Regions from separate parts of the Homo sapiens genome. Here all the other regions are linked to region 4. The links are contacts of gene promoters, found by promoter capture Hi-C in human tissues and cell types (Jung and others, 2019). All regions are on one chromosome and are shown on one strand. The core of a region is centred on a gene start or on the middle of the fragment in contact, and the rest is flanking DNA. Distances in the headings are between cores, read along the strand shown. Region 1 overlaps RGS3 (regulator of G protein signaling 3). Region 2 overlaps RGS3 (regulator of G protein signaling 3). Region 3 overlaps RGS3 (regulator of G protein signaling 3). Region 4 holds the start of RNF183 (ring finger protein 183).

Region 1 (5,425 bases), core at 145-2,644, 240 kb before region 4:
GGCTTACAGGATAGATGAAGAGTTTTAAAAGAACCAGAGCCTGAGACATAAAAAGAAAAAAAAAAAAAAAACATGAAAATGGGATCAGAGGGTCGGGGGTGTGTGGGGAACTAAAAGAATCACTTTGTATTCAAGTTGCACAGATGGTCTTTCCAACAATAAATGGTTGTGCTCCCATCTTCCCAGCTCCTGGGCCTGAGACACCAAACCAAGACAATTAGCCCATCAGGAAAGAGGCCATTGTGTGCTTCTTAGCATGATTTATGTAGCAGGGAGGGGCTCGGCAATGCTTCCCGTGATTATAGCTCTCAAGTGCAATTTCCATAGCTTGTTCATCATCCTGGACAGCTAGGATGGACTGGGATGCTGGACAGCAGTGGCCATCAGGTCATGTTTCATCTTCTCGAGCCTGTGGAGCCAAATTAATTGTTCGATCGATTTGAGAGGCAGAGCAGCAATGGTGCTGTGGCTCACCACAGTCACTGCCCAGGGCCCACCAGGAACTGATGTCCACTTCCCTAACAGCCGGACCTGGGACCCTGATGTGAGCATCTGCTCGACTCAGCAGCTTGTCAGGACAGGCTGGGTGAAAAGTCCTGTCCCCAGGGCTGTGTGCTGCATTCAGACTGTCCATTTCTTTGTGGCCAGAGCTCCTGTCCTCTGCACCTGTCTGGTAGACAGAGGTAGGTCACCAGGTCCAGGAGAGATGAGCTTGCTGCCTTCCCAGACAGGCGAGTCTCCTGTGCCTCACATTCCCCTTAATGTCATTTTGTAAGGGAATCAAATGAAATCAAAGTGCAGCTTGCTGTCTGTGCAGACCCAGCTGCTCAGCCTCTCACAAATCCCCCCCGCGGGCTGAGCCCTGGCAGACAGAGATGCTGTGTATCACTGGTCCCACTTCAGGCAGCGTTTACTCCCTTGCTGGGTGGGGGGCATTGGTCTGGTCACGGGCAGATCCAGCCCATCCCCTGTTAGACTGTTGAGTCAATATGTCTGATCTTTCCTAGGTTGAGAGGAGGATAAGTGGGAAGTAAGGGGTGTATTCTCTTCTAGGCCACCATTTTTGGGGTTCAAGTGGCCATAGCAGCTGAGCAAGCTCACAGGGGCACAAGAACCTTTCTCTAAAGATGCCGAGGTCTTACACAACACAAAGAATGTCCAAGGTCAGGGAACCTCTCTGGCCTCAGCCAGCCCTCAGCCTCTCTGACCCTCTTTTCCTATGCAAGTGACTCTAATCCTCTTGATACCCTTTTGCCCATGAGCCGTGTCCCTCAGACCTGCAGCCTTGGGCTTCCCTCCCTCTAGGTCTGGCAGTTAGATAAGAGTATGAGAGCTGCCCAACCCTGGGCTCCAGCTGGAGGTGCAGCAGGCAGTGAGTGGGCTGGGCTCAAACGGCTGTCCCCTTGGTTGGTCTTCCTTCAGCCCTGCGGCAGCACAGTCTCCACTAGAGCTGCTAGGCCACCCCCAGCCCAGTCCCTGGCCCTCGGAAGCCCCATGGAAAGCATGCGAAGTCAGTTTCCAGGGCACTGTGTGGCAGCTTCCTATCACAATGCTCAGCATGGGACAGAAAGACAGCACAGCAGCCCCTGCTAAGGCCTGGGCAGCAGTGAACTCTCCCACCTGGGCCAGGCTGAGCACTCACTGCCCCCAACTTCCAGGAACACTCCTAGAACTCAGCACTGCCCCCACTATCCCCCACGAGGCCTGGCCAAAAGGTGGCTCTGTGGGGAAGGTCCTAATCCTCACTCACATCCACTGAGAGAGGGGCCATTGAGGAGGAGGGTAGGCAGGGGGATGGGGCAGGGAGTCATCTCTTCTCCAGAGCCTGGCATTCAGGCATCCACTTCCCCAGCCACCATCCAGGACAAGCCACCAGGACAGTCCTCACCTAGAGAACTGAACGAGCCCCCTAACTGATCTCACACCCACTTGGGCCCCTCCTATGTGTAAACGGATCTTGTAAAAATGTACTTGCAACTCCCTTCCTCAAAAGCCTTCAATGGCTCTCCAGTGTATCTAGAATGAAATCAACAAGACATCAACTACCTCACCCACTGTGTCTTGCACCTCACTAAGCTCCAGCCACACTGGCCTGCTCGCCATTCCTCCAGCCCACTGAGCTCCTTCCCATCTCAGGGACTCTCCACGTGCTATTCCATCCACCGCGAACACTCTTCCCCAAGTCCAGGACTGGCTCCTTCCTCTCCAGCCCACAAGTCTCGGTTTAAAAGTTATGTCCTTCCCCATCCCCACCCCCACACACAGCACTCTAAGTACAATTCCCTCTTAAAGAAATCTGTGTTTTTTCTTTCATAGATGATCACAGCTTGCCATCACGTGTGTGCACGTGTGTGTGTTGGTATTGACTTATTTAACGCTCACTCCCAGCTAGACTGAAATCTTGATGAGAGCGAGACCATATCCGACTTTTTCTCCACAGTATCCCCAGCTCCTAGCATAGAGCCTGGCATAAAGTAGATGCACCCGAAATATCCATCGAATGAATGAGCCAATGTGTACAGGTGGAAAATGAGTGGATGGGCGGAGATGTCCTCTGGCAGCAGCAGATCATGGCATTGTTCTTCATCAGGGTGACCTCTCCCAACCTCTCCTGCTGCCCCCAAGGCAGGTCCGGGAGCCACCACTGGAAGCCCAGATGTGGAATGTCCTCCTCCTCCTCCTCCTTGGAAGGAAGAAGCCTCTGAGTCCTCTCCTCTTGGGACTTTCTGCTGCCAGTCTCTGCATGCCCACAAGGCCTCTCACACCATTGTGGTCCTTCTGTTGACATCCACATGCACCCTTGGGACCACTCCCTTCAGATGACCCTAGACCCACCATCTTGGTCCTCTGTTTCAGGTCCAGTTGAGGTGAGGTTACTGTGTGGTAGGGGATGCCCAAGAAAGGGTTAAGTTGCCAGAAGCAGAGTCCCGCCCTTGGGTTTGCTCAGCCAATCAGAGTCTGTCCTGGTGAGGTAAAGCTTCTATCCTGGGTGGCATTGGTTGAGTTGACCGGCCCCATCTCCTGCTGGAGAGAGCCGAAAGGGTGGAGTTTCTGTGGAACCAGACAGAACTGGAATTAGCTCGCTGTCTACTCAGGCCGGGCTGCCTGACTGCAGGACCTGCCTCTGTTCCTTTCTAAGGCACTCACACACCCTGGCATCTCCAGGGCTGTCTCTAGTGGCCCCAGTGGAGATGACAAGGTGGCACGCACCTCACCGTCACATCTGGGAGAAGTCTTAGAGCCAGAGCAGACAAGGAGGCCTCAGTTTCCCTGCCTGGGCCCCTGGAATATGGCAGATGTCTACCAGGAAGTGACATGGAGCAGTTGTCATATGTGCTCCGAGCACCAGCAGCAGCTTCAATGAACAAGGCCCCCGATGAATCTTCCCATATGGACAGCACTTTAAAACCATGACAGTGAGAACGATAGCGGCTAGTTCAGAGCTCCTCTTGCATGCCACTTTGCAAAGCACATCCTGAGTTCAATCCTCACAAGAAGCCTCTTAATCCATCCACTTTACTGATGCAAAAACTGAGTCTCAGAGAGGCTAACTGGCTCACCTGAGGTCACATTGCTTACTGTGTTACTTTGAACTATCTGTCATGTCTGTCTCTGCCACCAGACTGTGATCTCCCGAGGAAAGGGGGTGATGGATTGCTCTGTGCGTCCCTCCCCGTGGAGCACAGGACCTGCCCTGAGAATGGGGCCAGGCCCCACTGCACTGTGTCTGCCCTTCTCATCCTAAAGGCTTGGTTTCCATGCTTCTCAGAAGGCTTCCTGGAGCCCAGCCCAGCACCAGGCACATGAAGGGTACTGAGCAGGAGGCTCACGGCACGGATGATGCTTGGATAGCCAGGACCCCACTGGATCCTTCTTAGGACCCGCAAGCATGGCTTTCATGCTTAGATCACCACTCCAGTGCCCTCCTCATCTCTCTCCTATTAGGAGAATTCCATAGCGACAGGGACCAGGTCTCATTCATCTCTGTGATCCCAAAGGATCTAAACCAGTATCTGGCACTGAGAAGGCATTTATTATGTATATTTGCTTGAATAATCAAAAGAATATATAATTGTCTCTCCCTTCTAGCTTAGAACCTGAATGGCCACAGGTGGGCCCAGCTCTGAGTTATTCTAGATTAGAAGCCTCGCAGCAGTCCCCATGCAGGGAGTTTAGTACAAGGATTCCCAGGCAGAAGAAGAAAGGTAGGCGCCCCCCAGCTACAGATAATGAAGCAACAGAGGGGCAGAGCTCTGAAAAGGAAGGAGCGGGTGATGAACAGGAGTAGGAAGTTGAGACAAGAGAGAAAGTAGTTCATTTATTTCTACAAAAAATGGATACTAGATGGCCCCCGGCCCTCAGCTTTCACGAAAATCACAAAGCTTGGAGAGATAGAAAGAGCCACGGGCCCAGTGCCCAGATGGGACTACTGACACCACAGCAGCCAGCGGCTGCTGAAGGTCCCACAGCAAGGGAGTGACCTCCCAACTGTTCTTTAAGTCCATCTTCCCCTGACTCCCTCTACCTTCCCAACAAGCATATATTTCATCTTCAAGGTAAATTGCACTTATTACGTTTTGTGAATTTGGGAAGAGCTTTACATTCCTTAAGACATTTAAAGAATCCCCCACATCTGGGTGTCAGCAGACACTCTTGAAAAGAGCATGGGAGTTTGGGGAGTTGCCTTACAAACCCCCTTTTCCCAGAGAGGCATTTGGGTGGTGCAGGGGTGGGGTGGGGGTCTAGGCAGTGTTTTCCTTTGTTCAGCAGAAGGTGGAGCATCCACAGAAAGAACACAGAAAAGGCATTCAAAGGTGTGCTACTCTTGAGGTCAGGAGTTCGAGACCAGCCTGGCCAACATGGTGAAACCCCATCTCTACTAAAAATAAAAAAATTAGCCAGGCATGGTGGCATGTGCCTGTGGTACCAGCTACTCGGGAGGCTGAGCCATGAGAATCGCTTGAACCCAGGAGGCAGAGGCTGCAGCGAGCTGAGATCGCACCACTGCACCCCAGCCTGGGTGACAGAGCGACACTCCATCTCAGAGCAAATCGGTCCAGCAGGACCCTTATACCTGAAGAGCAAGCAGCCAGCCTCCGGGCTCCGTTTGGCCCTTCCTCTTCTGCCCTAGAGATGGAGACCTTAGTGGCCAGCCCTTGGTAAAGAGGTTCCTGGTCACCCCGAGGCTGCCAGGAACTGACGGAACTGAGCGCAAGTGGACAATGCTGTGGACCAGCTGGAAAGCCAGGCGGGCCCTGTCAGTGAGGTTGCTAAAGCATTGCTAGAACTACCTAGGGCTGGAGAGAATCTATTTACTGGAATTCCTCTCAGGGAGCATTCCATAAGTGTCTAGAAGGAGTAAGTTGCTAAGACTCTTTGCATGTGCATGGTGGTGATAGGGATGGGGAATTTTGAGCAGTGAGAC
Region 2 (5,173 bases), core at 247-2,746, 190 kb before region 4:
AACTCTCAGCTAGGCAGGTAATAAACACAGTGCTGCTATGCAGGCCACCCCACAGGGCACCTGTCTCAGTGGGGCACCATCTCACAGAGAGAAGCCCTGCCCAAGAGCTGACAGAGAAACTCTGCCTGTACCAGCCCCGGCCCAGTTGGGATGATCCTGACAGAAGCATCCCTAGGACCCACCTTGTCTGGAGTCAGGAGAGACTTCACCCCAAAGCTCATGCAGCCAATGAGTCCACTCTGTCTGGGAGAACAAGTGAGACTTGAGTCAGCATTTTTTTTCTGGGCTCTATCGGGAGGTCCATTATCAAGTATAGCATGGGTTTGCCTGATGCACTGTGGTTTACAAAGCTTTTTACCCACATCATCTCGTTTGATCCTTCTGACTCTGTGAGGCAGGATAGAGAGGAGCTATTATCTCCATTTTACAGAGGGAAAAATGGAGACTCAGAGTTGGTCCCTTTCCCAAGGTCACAGGACAAGTTCAGCACTGCCTCTACCAAACACAGAAGCTCAGCGGTACTTCATGAGTTTTAACCGTTCTGGTGCTAGGTAGATCTGAAGAGCTGGTCCCCACAGGGAACCTCCTTGCCCACATCATTGGTGATGCTCAGTGGAGGAGAACAGTTATGGGACCTCAAGCTCAAGAAGTTCTATCTCAGGTCCAGGAAGGAGCTGAGCAGTTCTTAGATGGCTACAGATCAAGGTCCAAACCAACCTGACACAAAAGCTGCTGAGACCAATCTGACCTGGCCACCAGCAGGGCAGGTAGGCATGGGCCAGGGTCAGGCCTCATGGGGATGTCAGACTATGGCGAGGGGCTAAATTCAATCTTCTTGGTTAAAAAGAATTCACAGCTGGGCACGGTGGCTCACGCCTGTAATGCCAGCACTTTGGGAGGCACAGGCAGGCAGATCACTTGAGGTCAGGAGTTTGAGAACAGCCTGGCCAACATGGTGAAACCCTGTCTCTACTAAAAATACAAAAATTAGCCCTACGTGGTGGTGCATGCTTATAATCCTAGCTACTCAGGAGGCTGAGGCAGGAGAGTCACTTGAAACCAGGAGGTGGAGTTGCAGTGAGCCAAGATCGCACCACTGCACTGCAGCCTGGGTGACAGAGCCAAGACTCCATCTCAAAAAAAAAGAAGAAGAAGAAGAAGAAGAATTCAGAGTTCCTGAAGAATGTCCACCATTGAGGCTCAATGTCCAATAATCAGGGACTAAGAGTTGGCAGCTTTTAATAATGATGGCATGGGCCAGGTGCAGTGGCTCACACCTGTAATCCAGCACTTTGGAAGGCATCACTTGAGCCCAGGAGTTTGAGACCAGCCTGGACAACAAAGGGAGACACCATCTCTACAAAAAATTTTTAAAATAGCAGGGCATGGTGGCATGAGCCTGTAGCCCCAGCTACTGAGGAGGCTGAGGTAGGAGGATCACTTGAGCCTGGGAGGTCAAAGCTGCAGTGAACTGTGATTGTGTGTTACTGTTCCTCCCTCTTGGGAAGTGGCCAAGTCAGCACTAACAGGAGGCAGTTGCAGCAACAGAGCAAGACACTGTCTCAAAAAAATAATAATGATAACATCAGTTAATATTAATAAAGTCCAAAAATATCTTGATATTGTTAGAGAAAAAGAAGTTTACAAAGCTGTAAATTTAATGAGTAATGTGAGTTTAATGAGAAAGACACCCACAAAAATACTAACAATGGTCATATCTGGTAGGTGGGATTACTAGGGGTTTAATTTTCCTTTATGGGTTTTCACTGTTTGCATAGGGAACAAGTATCGTTTTTATAATCAGGAGAAAAAAAAAGACAGTATCAATATACTTTTAAGGACTTTTATTGTGCCACATCCTGTTCTATCCTGACAGTAAGAGTTTTTTTTTAATGTCATCTTTCTGTTCTCCTCTCTCTTACCCCATCCTCAACTTGGACTAATTCATAGGTTGGTTTAATAACTATTAATCAAGAAACATCGTGGATATTTAGGCTGGAGCATAACCCTGGAGGCTGGCTTCAATAGCTGAAGGACCCACATAGCTGAGAGATTTGGCATGTCCTATGGAAGGCACAATATCAAAACCAAAGATGGAACAGGCTTCTGGATAGGTAGTAAACTCCCTAGAGATGTGTTTTCCAAAACCTGGTCTAAGGGGGCCTGAGCTAGAGCAGTGGTTCTATCCAGAAGTGTACCACAAAACCACCTGAACAGCCTGTCTGAGGTATATGCTCCAGGACTTCTTCCTGAGAACCCAAAATTAGTTGGTCCAAGGTGGGGTTCGAGCATGGGAGCCTGGAGAAAGCTCTCCAGGGTATCCTGCCAAGCACCCACTTATGCCTGCCCCAGTCAAAGACCAGTGATCTAGAAGGTCTCAAAAAAGACATATTGTTCAGATTCTCCAGAAAGCGTGGCAGCTTACCACCGGACAGTCCTAAGCAAAACAAAACTAGCTTCTCACAGGCAGCCAAGTCAAGCGAGGGGTGGGGAGGCAGGATGCTGGGGGATTGCTCCTCAAAACTGGTCCACCTGCCTGCAAACCCATGCTCTGCCCCATGGCCCAGAGCTGAGGCCCCTGCTTCTGGCTGTCTCTCAACAGCTGCTCTCAGTTCATCACTCCTGCTCCCAGCTCCTTCAGCCTTGGCTCCATCTGCTGCCTTCTTCCTTGCCTCTCTCATCATCCAAGGCTCTATTAATAATCTATTCAAAAAGGACAATGCTCTCACCCCAATAAAGTGCCCTTCCACATCCACCTCCCCAGCCCACCACCAAAAACAAATACTCCTCCCCCTTGGGAAGTAGCCAAGTCAGCACTAATAGGAGGCAGTTGCAGTGACTATCATAAACAGCCAAAACTAATCTGAGCTGCCATTCCAGAAAAGCCTTGGCAAGACTTTGCCAAAGTCCTCATACCAATTTCATTTTATTTGTCACACATTCAAGAGAACTCCAGCTGCTATCCAGGTGCCCATACTACTCTGTTGTACACTTCTTTCCTACTGGGTAGGGCTGAAACTTTCAAAGTCTCCAGGCCAATGCATTAGCTCAGCAACCTCTCTCTGCTCTTCACTAAGCGAAATCTTCATTCCCTGGTGTTTAGAGAATGTTAAATGGTTAATAGCCTCCCTCGAGTTTTACTTCCTGCTAAGGGGCCTCCCATGCTTTCATGGTAACTCAGGCAGCGTAAATTGCCACAATTAATGTCCATAAGCAGGAACCTCTCTCTAAGTGTTCTTCAATTAGCTATTTCTTATGCCTGCTTTTGAAAAATCTTTGGAGGAAGAAAGACTTCTTTTAAAGCAACCTGAGTATATGACAATACAGCAGTCAGTTTATAAACTTGGGAACTAGCGCTCACCCTCGGGAGTGCCTGAACTCTCACTAGATGCAAAGTCTCCGGAACCAAGCCTTGGTTAATTCTGACTACCAGTCCCTGAGCTCCAGGCTTGGTGCACTTAGTGAAGGCTTGACAAATGGATGAATCCATCACGTCCACGGTTGGCAGGCACTGGGCAAGGAGCCACAGCGTTAAGGAAACAACACAAACATCCAGGAATTTAAATAGCAGTTCAAGACAGCAATACAGGGGATGTCACAAGACAGGGTGCGATTGACAGATGAACAGTGCAGGCAACAAATTCTGAAGGCTCGGGGACACAAGAGGTAGTTTAGGGCTCACAGGCTGGAAGAAGACCTATGAACTGAGCCAGAGAGAATGAAGAGCATTTTGGGCAGAGGGAACAGCCGTTACAAAGGCTTTGAAGTAACTTCATGCAGCACATATGGGGAATAGTATTCAGTTTACTTTTGAGCATAGGGTTGCAGACTCATTACAAGATGAAAAAATAGATTATTTTTTGAGGAAATGCACTTTAGTTCTCCCTCTCAGGTAAATTATTTCTGTTACAGGGTTATACCATTTAATCCTAATTTATATTTAATTTGATGACTTAAATTGAACTTAGATTTTTCCATTCACTTTTTCCTTAAGCTCAGTACCCATCACTGGTCACAAGCTTTCTGACGTTAGGCCACTGTACTTGGCACTGAGATCTCATTTATAAAACAGATTAAAGGAGAGCATACACTTACAGTGCCTGGGACAGTGCAGGGCAAATCACAAGTAGAATCTCCCTAAATGTACCTACTATTAGTATAAAAGATTATGCCCTGGCTGGGCGCAGTGGCTCACGCCTGTAATCCCAGCACTTTGGGAGGCCAAGGCAGGCAGATCACTTGAGGTCAGGAGTTTGAGATCAGTCTGGCCAACATGGTGAAACCCTGTCTCTACTAAAAATACAAAATTAGCCAAGCGTGGTGGCATGCGCCTGTAATCCCAGCTACTTGGAAGGCTGAGGCAGAAGAATCACTTGAATCCAGGAGGTGGAGGTTTCAGTGAGGTGAGATCGCGCCATTCCACTCCAGCCTGGGTAACAGAGAGAGACTTCATCTCAAAAAAAAAAGATTATGTCCTTGCCTGGGCACGGTGGCTCATGGCTGTAATGTCAGCACTTTGGGAGGCCAAGGCGGGTGGATCACCTGAGGTCAGGAGATGGAGACCAGCCTGGCCAACATGGTGAAACCCCATCTCTACTAAAAATACAAAAATCAGCTGGGCATGGTGGCATGCGCCTGCAGAGTGCCAGCTACTTGGGAGGCTGAGGCCAGAGAATCGCTACCTGGGAGACAGAGTTTGCAGTGAGCTGAGATTATGCACAAGAGTGAAACTCCATCTCAAAAAAAAAGAAAAAAAAATTACTTTAAAAAAAGATTATGCCCTTTAATTACATATATATAACATTCTTTAATTACATATATAAATAATGTTTACATATAATTAATATATAATAATATATAAAGAATATATATAATATATAAATAATTATATATTAGTATATATAATTTCTATATGCTCATATATAATTATAATTAAGTTATGTATAATTATATATACCAATATATAATTATAATTAAGTTATATATAATTATATATACCAATATATAATAATTACGTTACATATAATTATATATACCAATATATAATAATTAAGTTATATATAATTATATATACCGATATATAATTATAATTAGGTTATATATAATTATATATACTGATATATAATTATAATTAGGTTATATATAATTATATATACTGATATATAATTATAAT
Region 3 (5,125 bases), core at 2,276-4,775, 170 kb before region 4:
CTCCAGGCTCCCCAGGCCAGGACACACCTGCCCCAGTTCACAAGATCCCTCCCTCGGCCATGCCTGTCCCCTCCTTCCCCCCATCATGCTACTCCACCAAATGTCTGACACACAGGCCCCTGAAGTCATCTTGTCCAGTCTCCTCATTTTGTAGCCAGAACGGTCATGCCTGAGATGGAAGGTGATTTGCTCTGGGCCCAGAGAATCCAGAGCTGGAGATTAGAACTCTACCCCCACTCCAGCACTCTTTCCTGTGCACAGTCTTCTGGAACACCCACAGCCCTCTAGCACGCACCTCCTCTGCTGTGCCCACTGCGTTTGCCAACACAACCTTCAGATTCAGAGGTAGAGAGAACCATCGGGGACAGCACCAGGTGCCACAGCTTTTCTCAAGAAACCAAGAGGTTAGCTGAGCATAGTGGCACATCCTATAGTCCCAGCTGCTTGGGAGGCTGAGGTGGGAGGACCACTTGAATCCAGGAGGTTGAGCCCACAGTGAACCATGATCACACCACTGCAACTCCAGCCTGGACCTTGGGGAACAGCGTGAGACCTGTCTCAAAGGAAAAAAAAGAAAAAGAAAAAAAATAGAGGGCAGCCTCCTAGAAATGTCTCCAATCTAGAGAAAGAAACCTCCAGGTGAAGGGGAAGTAGGGCTGAATCCCTGGAGTCTTCAGCTCACCGAAGCACCAGCTAATTTGGCATCCTTTCAGAACACCCCCCCCACCCAACCTCCCTCCACAGATACATACCCTATGTATTGTTCTGAAATTTGCTTGTTCCTTTAAAAACTTGTCTTTGTGGGGTGTGGTCGCTCATGCCTGTAATCCCAGCACTTTGGGAGGCTGAGGTGGGAGGATTGCTTGAGTCCAGGAGTTTGACACCAACCTGGACAATACAGCAAGAGCCCTTCTCTACAAAAAATTAATTAAAAAAATAGCCGGGCACCGTGGTGCGTGCCTGTAGTCTCAGCTACTTGGGAGGTTGAGGCAGGAGGATTCCTTGAGCCCAAGAGGTTGAAGTTGTAGTGAGCTATGATTGCACGACTGTACTCCAGCCTGGATGATAGAGCCAGACCCTGTCTCAAAAAACAAAAACCTAAAACTTTTCCCAATAATATTCTTGCTCCTACACCTCTGTTTTTTTCAACACTCCCCATTCCTCCCTAGACTCAGGGAGCAGTCAGGCTAAAGGGCTTGAAGTCATCCTCATCGAGGTTGGGCAGGGCCTTTGGACAGGGCATGTCCCCTGTTCCCATGAGATCGCAGTTGGGCACCAACACTATGTGCAAAAGGTGGTGGTGATGGATGCCCAGAGAGGCTGCAAGTGTGTACCAGGGCCCAGAGCCAAAGGGAGAATAGACAGGGCCCCATATGGCAGGAAAAATACTGGATGGGAATGAGCTTCAGAAAGCCTGGAAAAGGCAACAAACCCAAATTCTGCTGGGCACAGGACTTGAAGGGCTCAGACTTACTGGGCACTTTTAAATGGATGTGGACACCAGCTAAAGAAATTCAGTCTGGCAGACAATACTCAGTAGAGAACCACAGATGAACTCTAACCCACAGGCCACAGTCAGAAAGAGACATACTCAGAAAATAAAGGAAGTAGATGGGGACTGCACACCTTTGCTAGACTCAGGGATCAGCCGGAATGTGTCCCAGTGGGAGCCCATGCCACCCTGAGATGTGCAGAGAATACATCTATGATGGACTTGCCTGGCTAGCATGAAGCAGCAGGCATCCTAAAATCCAATTCACCCCAGAAGCCGCTGCCCATTTAAGAACTGTCACATGTTAAAAGCTACAGGAAGGGTGATGATATCCAGACAAACATATGAAGGCAGTTGGGTCTACATGGAGCCTAGCCAGCCGCTAACATCCACAGATTTCCCCTCCGTTTATGAGGACACGTCTGTACTCAAGTCTTCCTCGCAGGAGGGAGGGTGCCCAGCCAGATGCCAGGCACGCCCTCTCTCTGTGGTCTTCAGCTGCCTCATCCACACCCCAGCCCTGATCCAGGCTCAGAAATGGTTAAGCATGTGTTTACCAATTTCACTGCCTGCTTGATCTAAGGGAGAAATGGTAGGCTGCAGTGGCGCTGGGAAACAGGCAGCCACACAGCTCTATGGACATAACCCAGGAGAATTTCCCATGGCTACTGTGTTAAAAGAAGGAGAACCCTGAGTTCCATTCAAAAAAGTGGCCCTGGTTTGCGAAGGTGAGGACATAGGACACACAGCACTGGCATAAAAATTGTGATGGGTCAGTTCAATCCCCTGGCCTCTCTGCTTCCTGTGAAAGCTGATATTAATGTAGTTTCCCAAGCTCTTTTTCCTTACAGAAAGAGATTGCTCCGGCCAGCATAAGTCTTCTAGTCTACTCAGAAATTCTATTTTTCAGCATAAACTAATAAATTAGCATTCAGTCTCTTGATAATTTAGATTCCCATGGATCACTCACAAGGGATTCTAGGTCCGTCCTGGGCAAGCTGGTAAAATAAAACTCCTGAATCTACTGCAGTCAGCATCTAATCTTGGCTGGATCATAACACCACTAGCAGTCCTGTGGGGCTCAGATCCAAACATCCTACAGGATTCACACACATCTCAACCCAGAGTTCAGGGCCATAGTGAACTACCAGGCTAGGCACACACATGGAGAGAACAAAGTCAATGTTTCTTAGATGTTTACTAGGTACTCAGCACTTTACTATAAGCTTTTTATTTCTTTTACTCCTCACAATAACTCCGTGAAATGGTTACTACTTTTATCCCAATTTACAGGCAAGGAAGCTGAAGATTATTAAGAGGTAAACAGGTTGGCTGGGCATGGTGGCTCACACCTGTAATCCCAACACTTTGGGAGGCTGAGGCAGGATGATCACTTGAGGCCAGGAGTTTGAGACCAGTCTAGGCAACATAGCAAGACTCTGTCTCTCCAAAAACGTTTTTTTAAAATTAGCCGGACGTGGTGGTGTGTACCTGTAGTCCCAGCTACTCAGGAGGCTGAGGTGGGAGGATCACTGGAGCCCAGGAGGTTGAGGCTGTAGTGAGCCATGATCACACCACTGCACTCCAGCCTGGGCAACAGAGTGAGACCCCAACTCAAAAAAAAGAAAATAGCTAAAACAGGTTGTCCAAATCACACAGCCAGTAAGTGGCAGAGCTGGGGTTTGCATTTAGGCAGTCCAGGGCCCCCACTGTTAGCCTCTCTATACCTATCATGGGTTTAAAATTTGTCCACAAAGTCTTTGATACTCTTCCTTTCAAGAGGTGAAGCCTAGTTCCTCCCTTCAGACATGGGCTGGACTTAGTGACTTGCTTCTAACAAATAGAATGTGGTAGAAATGACAGTGGATGACTTTCAACATTAGGATATTAAAGGTATTATTAGTTCCTTCTTTTTTTAACAGCTGTATTGGGATATAATTAACATATCATACATTTCATCAGTTTTGTTTATTATTGAGATGGAGTCTCACTCTGTCGCCCAGGCTGGAGTGCAATGACATGATCTCAGCTCACTGTAACCTCTGCCTCCCAGGTTCAAATTATTCTCCTGTCTCAGCCTCCTGAGTAGCTGGGATTACAGGCATGCACCACCCACACCTGGCCAATTTTTTGTATTTTTTGTAGAGACAGAGTTTCACCATGTTGGCCAGGCTGCTCTCGAACTCCTGACCTTAGATGATCCACCCGCCTCAGCCTCCCAAAGTGCTGGGATTGAGCCACCGTGCACGGCCACACTTCACCAATTTAAAGCATGTAATTTTCTTTTAGTATATTCACAGGATTCTGTAATCAATCACCTCTATCTAATTTTAGAACATTTTCATCCTCCCCTAAAAGAAATCCCATACTCTTTCGCAGTCACACCCTATTCCCTTCTCCCCTCAGCCCTTGTCAACCACTAATCTGCTTTCTGTCTCTAAGGACTTGCCTATTCTGGATACTTATGTAAACAGAATCACACAACGCATGGTCTTTTGTGATTGACTTCTTTCACTTAGCATAATGTTTTCAAGGTTCACCCATATTGTAGCACGTATCAGTATTTTAGTCCCTTTGTGGCCAAATAATATTCCATTGTATGGATATACCACATTTTGTTTATCCACTCATCTGGTGATGGATATTTCAGGTTATTTCGACTTTTTGGCTACTATGAATAATGCCGTTATGAACATGTGTGTGTGTACACATGTTTGTGTGAGCATGTGTTTTCATTCCTCTTGGATTTATACCTAAGAGTGGAATTGCTGGGTCAAATGGAAACTCTACATTTAATTGTTTGAGGAACCGCCAAACTTTTCCAAAGTGGTTGCACCATTTGACATTCCGGCCGGCAGTGTACAAGGGTTCCAATTTCCCCTCAACTTCTTCAACGCCTGTTATTGGCTCTTTTTTTATTATAGTCATTCTAGTATGATAGTATCTCATTGTGGTTTTGATTTGCATTTCCCTGATAACTAATGACATTGAGCATTTTTTCACATGCTGTTAGCCATTTTTCTTTGGAAAAAAATGTCTATTCAAATCCTTTACCCATTTTTGAGCTGGGTTACTCATCTTTTTATGGGAGTTCTTTCTTGCTTTCATTTTTGTATCACTTGCCTAGAAGGAAGCCAGCTGCCACATAATAAGGAAGCTCAAGCAATCCTACGAAGAGGTCCATGCGATGAGAAACAGAAGCCTCCTAATTACAGGTAGCAAGGAACTGAGGCCTCCTGCTGAGAGCCATGTGAATGAGCCATCTTGGAAAGGGACCCTCCAGCCCCAGTAATGCCTGCTCGGACAACTGCAGGTAGGCAGGCAGGCAGGGAGAAAGAAAGGAGGGACGGAGAGAGAGAGCGGGGAGGGGAGGAAGGGACGGAAGAGGCAGGGAGGGAGGAGAAAAGGAGGGAGAGAGGCAGAAAGGGAGGGAAAAAAAAACAAAAACCAACTCAAAAAAGCTTAGAAAATATATGTAGGGGACTTCCATTTCTGGGATGACAGATCCACTGAGGAAAACTAGAAATGCTAAACAAAATATGTTAAAGCATCTTCTTAGATAAACAACAAGAGAGAGAGGAGCTACCAGGCAGGATCTAGGGGAATGGAGGACTGTAGAAGGAAACCTAGTGT
Region 4 (5,788 bases), core at 2,380-4,879:
ATTTTTATTTCAATGCTTACAATGTCATGACTGACTTCTTACCTGCCCTACCTGCTTATCTTTTTAAGTTCTGGATACCCTGGTTGCAGAAAACTCAGACTTAACTTACTTTCTAAGTGAACTTTCTTACTACAAAAGTAATACATATTTGAGAACTTGGAAAATGTAAGCAAGAAGAAAGCGAAAACATGAGTGGCCATCACCCAGAGATAAAATTGTGACATTTTGCCTCATGGTCTTGCAGTCTTTATACATAAATTATGCTTTACAAAATCTGGCTTATGCTACATTCTCTCTTTCTTTCCTTTTCTTTTCTTTTCCTTCCCCTCCCTCCCTCCCTCCCTTCCTTCCTTCCTCCTTCCCTCCCTTCCTTTCTTCCTCCCTCCCTCCCTTCCTTCCTTCTTCTTTCCTTCCTTCCTTCTCCCTCTCTTTTCTTCTTTTCTTTCTTTTTTTCTTTTCTATCTTTCACAGGGTCTTTGCTCTGTTGCCCAGGCTAGAGTGCAGTGGTGCAATCTGGGCTCACTGCAGCCTTGACTTTCTGGGCTCAAGTGATCCTCCCACTTCAGCCTTCTGAGTATCTGAGACAACAGGCATGTGCCACCACGCCCAGCTAATTTTTTATTTTTTTATTTTTTGTAGCAATGGGGTCGCTAGTCTTGAACTCCTGGGCTCAAGCAATCCTCCAACCTCGGCCTCCCAAAGTGCTGGGATTATAGGCATGTGCCCAGCCAACATGCACCGTTTTTTTGTTTTGTTTTGTTTTGGTTTTGGTTTGTTTGTTTGTGTTTTTTTTGAGATGGATTCTCTCTCTGTTGCCTGGGCTGGAATGCAGTGGTGCAATCTCGGCTCACTGCAACCTCCGCCTCCCAGGTTCAAGCGATTCTCCTGCCTCCTTAGCCTCCCAAGTAGCTGGGATTACAGGCACCTGCCACCACGCCCAGCTAAGTTTTTTTTTTTTTTGTATTTTTTAGTAGAGACGGGGTTTCAACATATTGGCCAGGCTGGTCTCAAACTCCTGACCTTGTGATCCGCCTGCCTCGGCCTCCCAAAGTGCTGGGATTACAGGCGTAAGCCACCGTATCCGGCCAACATGCACCATTTTTAAGCTGCTTTCCCCCTCCATTTACAGTATACTGTGACCATTTTTAAAAGTCAATGAAAATCTTTCTATATCATTTTAAATGATTATGTAGTTTTTCACCTAATTGATGGGGTTTTGGAGTGTTTTCAATCATTTGTGATTAAAATAAAACTGCAATGAATATCCTCACTCAACCAAAATATATCTTTTTGATGCTTCTGGGGAATTACATGATTAGGTCAAAGTAGATGAACTTCTTTATGTTTTCTTATGTTGCCAAGCCAGAAAGCGTGACTTCCAAACTCTCAAATACAAACCAGGTTCTTTGGACTAAATCAGTGTCTCGAATCCCCAGTAACCTCAGTTAACCAGTAGTGACACCGAAAAGCAGGGAATTCCAGAGCTGAGAGGAACTTTGAGGCCATCGGTGATCATATACCTCGTCTCCAGCTCAGAAAGAGGAGAATTACTTAGACATTTTCTTTAGAGATCTAAAACTTCCCAAAGTCCACAGTTTTATTTTCACACAATTCTAGGCTAACTTAAAATCAGCATTTTTGCATTATTCTTTCATTCAATATTTATATATTTATAATGAGGGGGTTAGATCAATAGGGGATTGGTGAAGTGATTTATGGTACAGCCATTCAATGAAATCTGATACAACCATTAAAAAACCGAAGAAGGTCTTCTTTTTTTTTTTTTGCTCTGTCGCCCAGGCTGGAGTGCAGTGGTACAATCTCAGCTCACTGCAACCTCTGCCTCCCAGGTTCAAGCGATTCTCCTGCCTCAGCCTCCTGAGTAGCTGGGACTACAGGTGTGCACCATGACGCCGGCTAATTTTTGTATTTTTAGTAGAGACGGGGTTTCACCATGTTGGCCAGGCTGGTCTTGAACTCCTGACCTCAAGTGATCCACCCGCCTTGGCCTCCCAAAGTGCTGGGATTACAGGTGTGAGTCACAGCGCTGGGCCAAAAACCGAAGAAGGTCTTTATGTACTAATACAGAATGATATCTCAAATACATCATCAAATGAAAAAAGAAAAATGCAGAACAGTGTACATAATATGCACATTTGTGTAAAAAGGAGGTAAAGGAATACATAGATGTTTTGCCATGGACATGCTGTTTGTGTATGTATAAAACATCTTTGGAAAGATACACAACAAACTGATAGTATAATACTTTGATTTCCAGGGAAACTAGGTGGCTGCGAAGAGACAGTTTTCACTGTGAAATCAAACCATTCACATGCTCAACCATGTAAATATATTACCTATTTAAAAATCAAATGTGGGCACGGTGGCTCAAGTGTAATCTTAGCACTTTTGGCAAGTGGATTGCTGGAGCCCAGGAGTTTGAGACCAGCCTAGGCAACCTGGAGAAACCCCATCTCTACAAGAAATACAAAAATTAGCCAGCCACGGTGGCATGCACCTGTAGTCCTAGGTACTCAGGAGGCGGAGGTGGGAAGACTGCTTGACCCCAGGAGGTTGAGGCTGCAGTGAGCTGTGATCGTGCCACCGCACCCCAGCCTGGATGATAGAGTGAGACTCTGTCTCAAAATAAATCAATACATAAAAATTAATGTAAAAAAACACAAAATGCGGGGACTAGGGCATTTGATTACATCACCAAGCAGATACATTTATTTACTTGTTTATTTCTCAAGTATGGCTGAAAATGTCAGTAAAGAAATAAGGGGCCAGGCGCGGTGGCTCATGCCTGTAATCTCAGCACTTTGGGAGGTCGAGGCAGGTGGATCACCTGAGGTCAGGAGTTTGAGACCAGCCTGGCCAACAAGGCGAAATCCTGTCTCTACTAAGAATGTAAAAATTAGCCGGGCATGGTAGCGCGCACCTGTAGTCCCAGTTACTCGGGAGGCCGTGGCAGGAGAATTGCTGGAACCAGGGAGGTGGGGGTTACAGTGAGCCAGTATCGCCCCACTGCACTCTAGCCTGGGCGACAGAGCAAAACTACGTCTTAAAAAAAAAAAAAAAAAAGAAAGAAAAAAAAAAAGAAAGAAAGAGAGAGAGAAAGAAAAGAGGACCATAGGTACAAAAAGAATTTGAGCGGGAACAAAAGATGGGCCACGTGAACAGACCGGTTATAACAATAATAGTTCTGGTTAACATTTAGCGAGTTACTGTCTGCCAGGCCCTGTGTTATTACGCGATCTCGACACGTATTACCTCATTTAATCTACAGATCAAGTAGGTAGGTTATTATGGCCATTTTCAGGTGAGGAAACTGAGGCTGGCAGAAGTTAATTAATTTGCTCAAGTCTCCATCGGTAGTTAAACGGAGTTTGGATTCTCAGTGAGGGCTGAACTCTGACCTAGAAGTGTGCCTTGCTTGAGAACCCTGGCTCTTCAGGCAGACGCTCAACCGTCTCCCGACTATTTTTCTGCTGTATTAGTGGCCGCTTTTGTCAGTATTTTGCAAGAGCTATCTGTATTTTGGTTACAGGGACTCAGCATAGGGAAGGATCCATCTCGGCAGAAGCCAGGAGTCGAGGCAGGTCAGCGCACAGAGGACAGTGGAATCCGAGGGGATGGCAGGAGATCAATCGGACCCAGAACAGAGGCCTGCAAGGATGAGCGCACTTGATCCCCTCAGAGAAAAAGCCAGAGTGACTCACAGGAGAAAGACAAAGCAACCAAAGCTTCCAGGGTGTACAGGAGGTCCAAAGTCACCAGAAGGAAGAAGAAAACCTGAAACAGCGAGAGCTGGCCAAACGCTGCTAAGACCTATGCAAATAAGACCCACCCACGCTACCTGGAAATCGGGCCTGGGAAGTCAGAAAACAAAGCACATGCGTGCAGGGCTGCACGAACGGAGGCGGAGGAGGCGGCTCCGAGGGAGCAGGTAAGGAGACAGAGAGGGTCGCGGAGGGACGGGTCACAGGGCTCCAGAGTCCAGAGAGGCAGCAGCCGTGCAGCGCGCGACAGGTGAACTCTGGCCTGGGAGGGCAGGCTACTGGGTTCATCTTTCAAACTCAGCCACTCTTTAGCTGGGAAGACTTCGGCAAGTTGCCTCACCCTTCTGAGCCTTGGCTTCCCCATCTAGAAAATGGGTCTAAAAATAATCATGCTAACTCTGTATTGAGCGCCTTCCGTATTCTACTGGGCACCGTATAGACTATTCCTTCCCCAGAGCAACCTTGTAGGAGTGGGATGATTAGCCTTTTTTACAGAGGAAAATGAAGTTCAGAGAGGTTAAGCCATTTGTCCAAGACAAATTGTTCCAAATCTGGTTCCAAAGCCGGCACCTTTCTACTCCCCATTCAGCCTCTCTCACAGGGTGGTTTTAGAGTATCAAATGGCTTTCTGCAAACAACAACAAAAAATCCCAAAAGGCTAGTAACCTATCTAGATGGATCACCACACTTAGATCTTAGCAAGGGCCAGGGCCCTTTGTAAACTGTGAAGTGCTATGGAAATGCCAGTTCTTGGTTGAAAACAATGGAGTGATGCTGGGGACAATTGATATTTGGCGATGACTTGTTCATAGACCAAGGAGATGACTTTGGGGCGGTGTTTAGGATTTACTGTAGCTGAGATGTCCTGGCTTGGGGTGGAGGTGATACATGGCCAGAATCTCTCCCCAGCTGATCCTGAAACAGCAGTGGATCCCTGGGAGAGCAGCACAGATAAAGATCCAGGCAATAATGATGCTTCCTCCTCTTGGACAGCCTTTTACAGTTCTGGCCATGGAACTTCAGAGAAGGTAGGTCTGATTTGGGGGGAAACAGGAGATCTTGACGTGTAGTAATACAAGCTTACTGGATGGAGTAAAGTTAGAATTTTCAGGTAAGAGAATTAAAAAAAAAAAAAAAACTTATAATCTTGCCCCCAGAGATAACCACTGCTAATATCTGGTTGTTTATCTCTCCAGACATTTTTTCCATTGCACACACACTTTTGGAAATTGGATTATATGGTAATATGGTTTTGTTGCTGGTTCTTTTTCGCTTAATGACATTATATCCTAGGTATATATCCATATTAATAGTTTTACCACATCATATTAAAGGCTGCATAATATCTCTTCCTATGGATGGAGCAGAATCTACTTAATCAATGTCCTATTACTGGATGATGACGTAGTTCTCCATACGTCACCGTTAAACCAGCGCCTGGATGGGCATCTCTTTACTCACATCTTTGCAGAAGTCCTTGATGGTTTCCGTGGAATCGATTCCCAGTGGGGGAAATGATGAGTCAAGGTTACATACAGTTTACGGCCTCTGGTAAGTATTAAAGATCTGCTTCTAACACACTCTGGGATTCAGGGGCTTCTCAAAGCTTGATGCAGAGGACTTTGTCACGGCTTTGAAATCAACCTTGACCCTTCCTTTCTCTCAAATCCATTTGCATTAATAATTTCAACTGCCTCATATATCCATAACAATGTTTTGATCAACAGTGAATTACATATGTGATGGTGGCCACCTAAGATTATAATACCATATATTTACCTTGCCTTTTCTAAGTTTATGTTGAAAGACACACGCAATTATCATTGTGTTACAATTGCCTACAGTGTTCAGAACATAATAAGCTGTATGGGTTTGTAGCCTAGGAGCAACAGGCTAGACCGTATAGCCTAGGCATGTAGCAGGCTCTACCATCTAGGTTTGTGTAAATACTCTCTGTGCTGTTCATACAACGATGTGTTTCTGAGAACATAGTCCCATTTTTAGGT

What was found. Contacts are between HindIII fragments. The study calls those that stand out against the background at their distance.
Region 1: a fragment that was not itself captured here is called in contact with the fragment with the promoter of RNF183 in region 4 in 4 of the 25 tissues and cell types used here (liver, mesendoderm cells, spleen and 1 more).
Region 2: a contact is called between a fragment that was not itself captured here and the fragment with the promoter of RNF183 in region 4, in 2 of the 25 tissues and cell types used here (IMR-90 fibroblasts and mesenchymal stem cells).
Region 3: a contact is called between a fragment that was not itself captured here and the fragment with the promoter of RNF183 in region 4, in 2 of the 25 tissues and cell types used here (IMR-90 fibroblasts and spleen).

What each region holds. Positions count from the first base shown.
Region 1 is chr9:113,538,946-113,544,370 of GRCh38, reverse strand. All of the region lies in intron 17 of RGS3 (regulator of G protein signaling 3), which reads right to left. Among named protein-coding and RNA genes, the nearest start is that of RGS3, 78 kb to the right of the region's middle. RefSeq lists enhancers at 999-1,514, 1,515-2,030, 2,755-3,254. The HindIII fragment of the contact is 4,573 bases long and covers 1-3,680 here.
Region 2 is chr9:113,490,856-113,496,028 of GRCh38, reverse strand. It overlaps RGS3 (regulator of G protein signaling 3), which reads right to left. Exons shown (of 23, transcript NM_001394167.1): 6 at 183-243. Among named protein-coding and RNA genes, the nearest start is that of RGS3, 30 kb to the right of the region's middle. The HindIII fragment of the contact is 6,530 bases long and covers 1-4,761 here.
Region 3 is chr9:113,471,384-113,476,508 of GRCh38, reverse strand. All of the region lies in intron 1 of RGS3 (regulator of G protein signaling 3), which reads right to left. Among named protein-coding and RNA genes, the nearest start is that of RGS3, 10 kb to the right of the region's middle. The HindIII fragment of the contact is 5,234 bases long and covers 909-5,125 here.
Region 4 is chr9:113,301,217-113,307,004 of GRCh38, reverse strand. It overlaps RNF183 (ring finger protein 183), which reads left to right and starts at 3,629. Exons shown (of 5, transcript NM_001371237.1): 1 at 3,629-3,949; 2 at 4,692-4,810; 3 at 5,254-5,333. RefSeq lists an enhancer at 1,189-1,358. The HindIII fragment of the contact is 15,296 bases long and covers 1-4,304 here.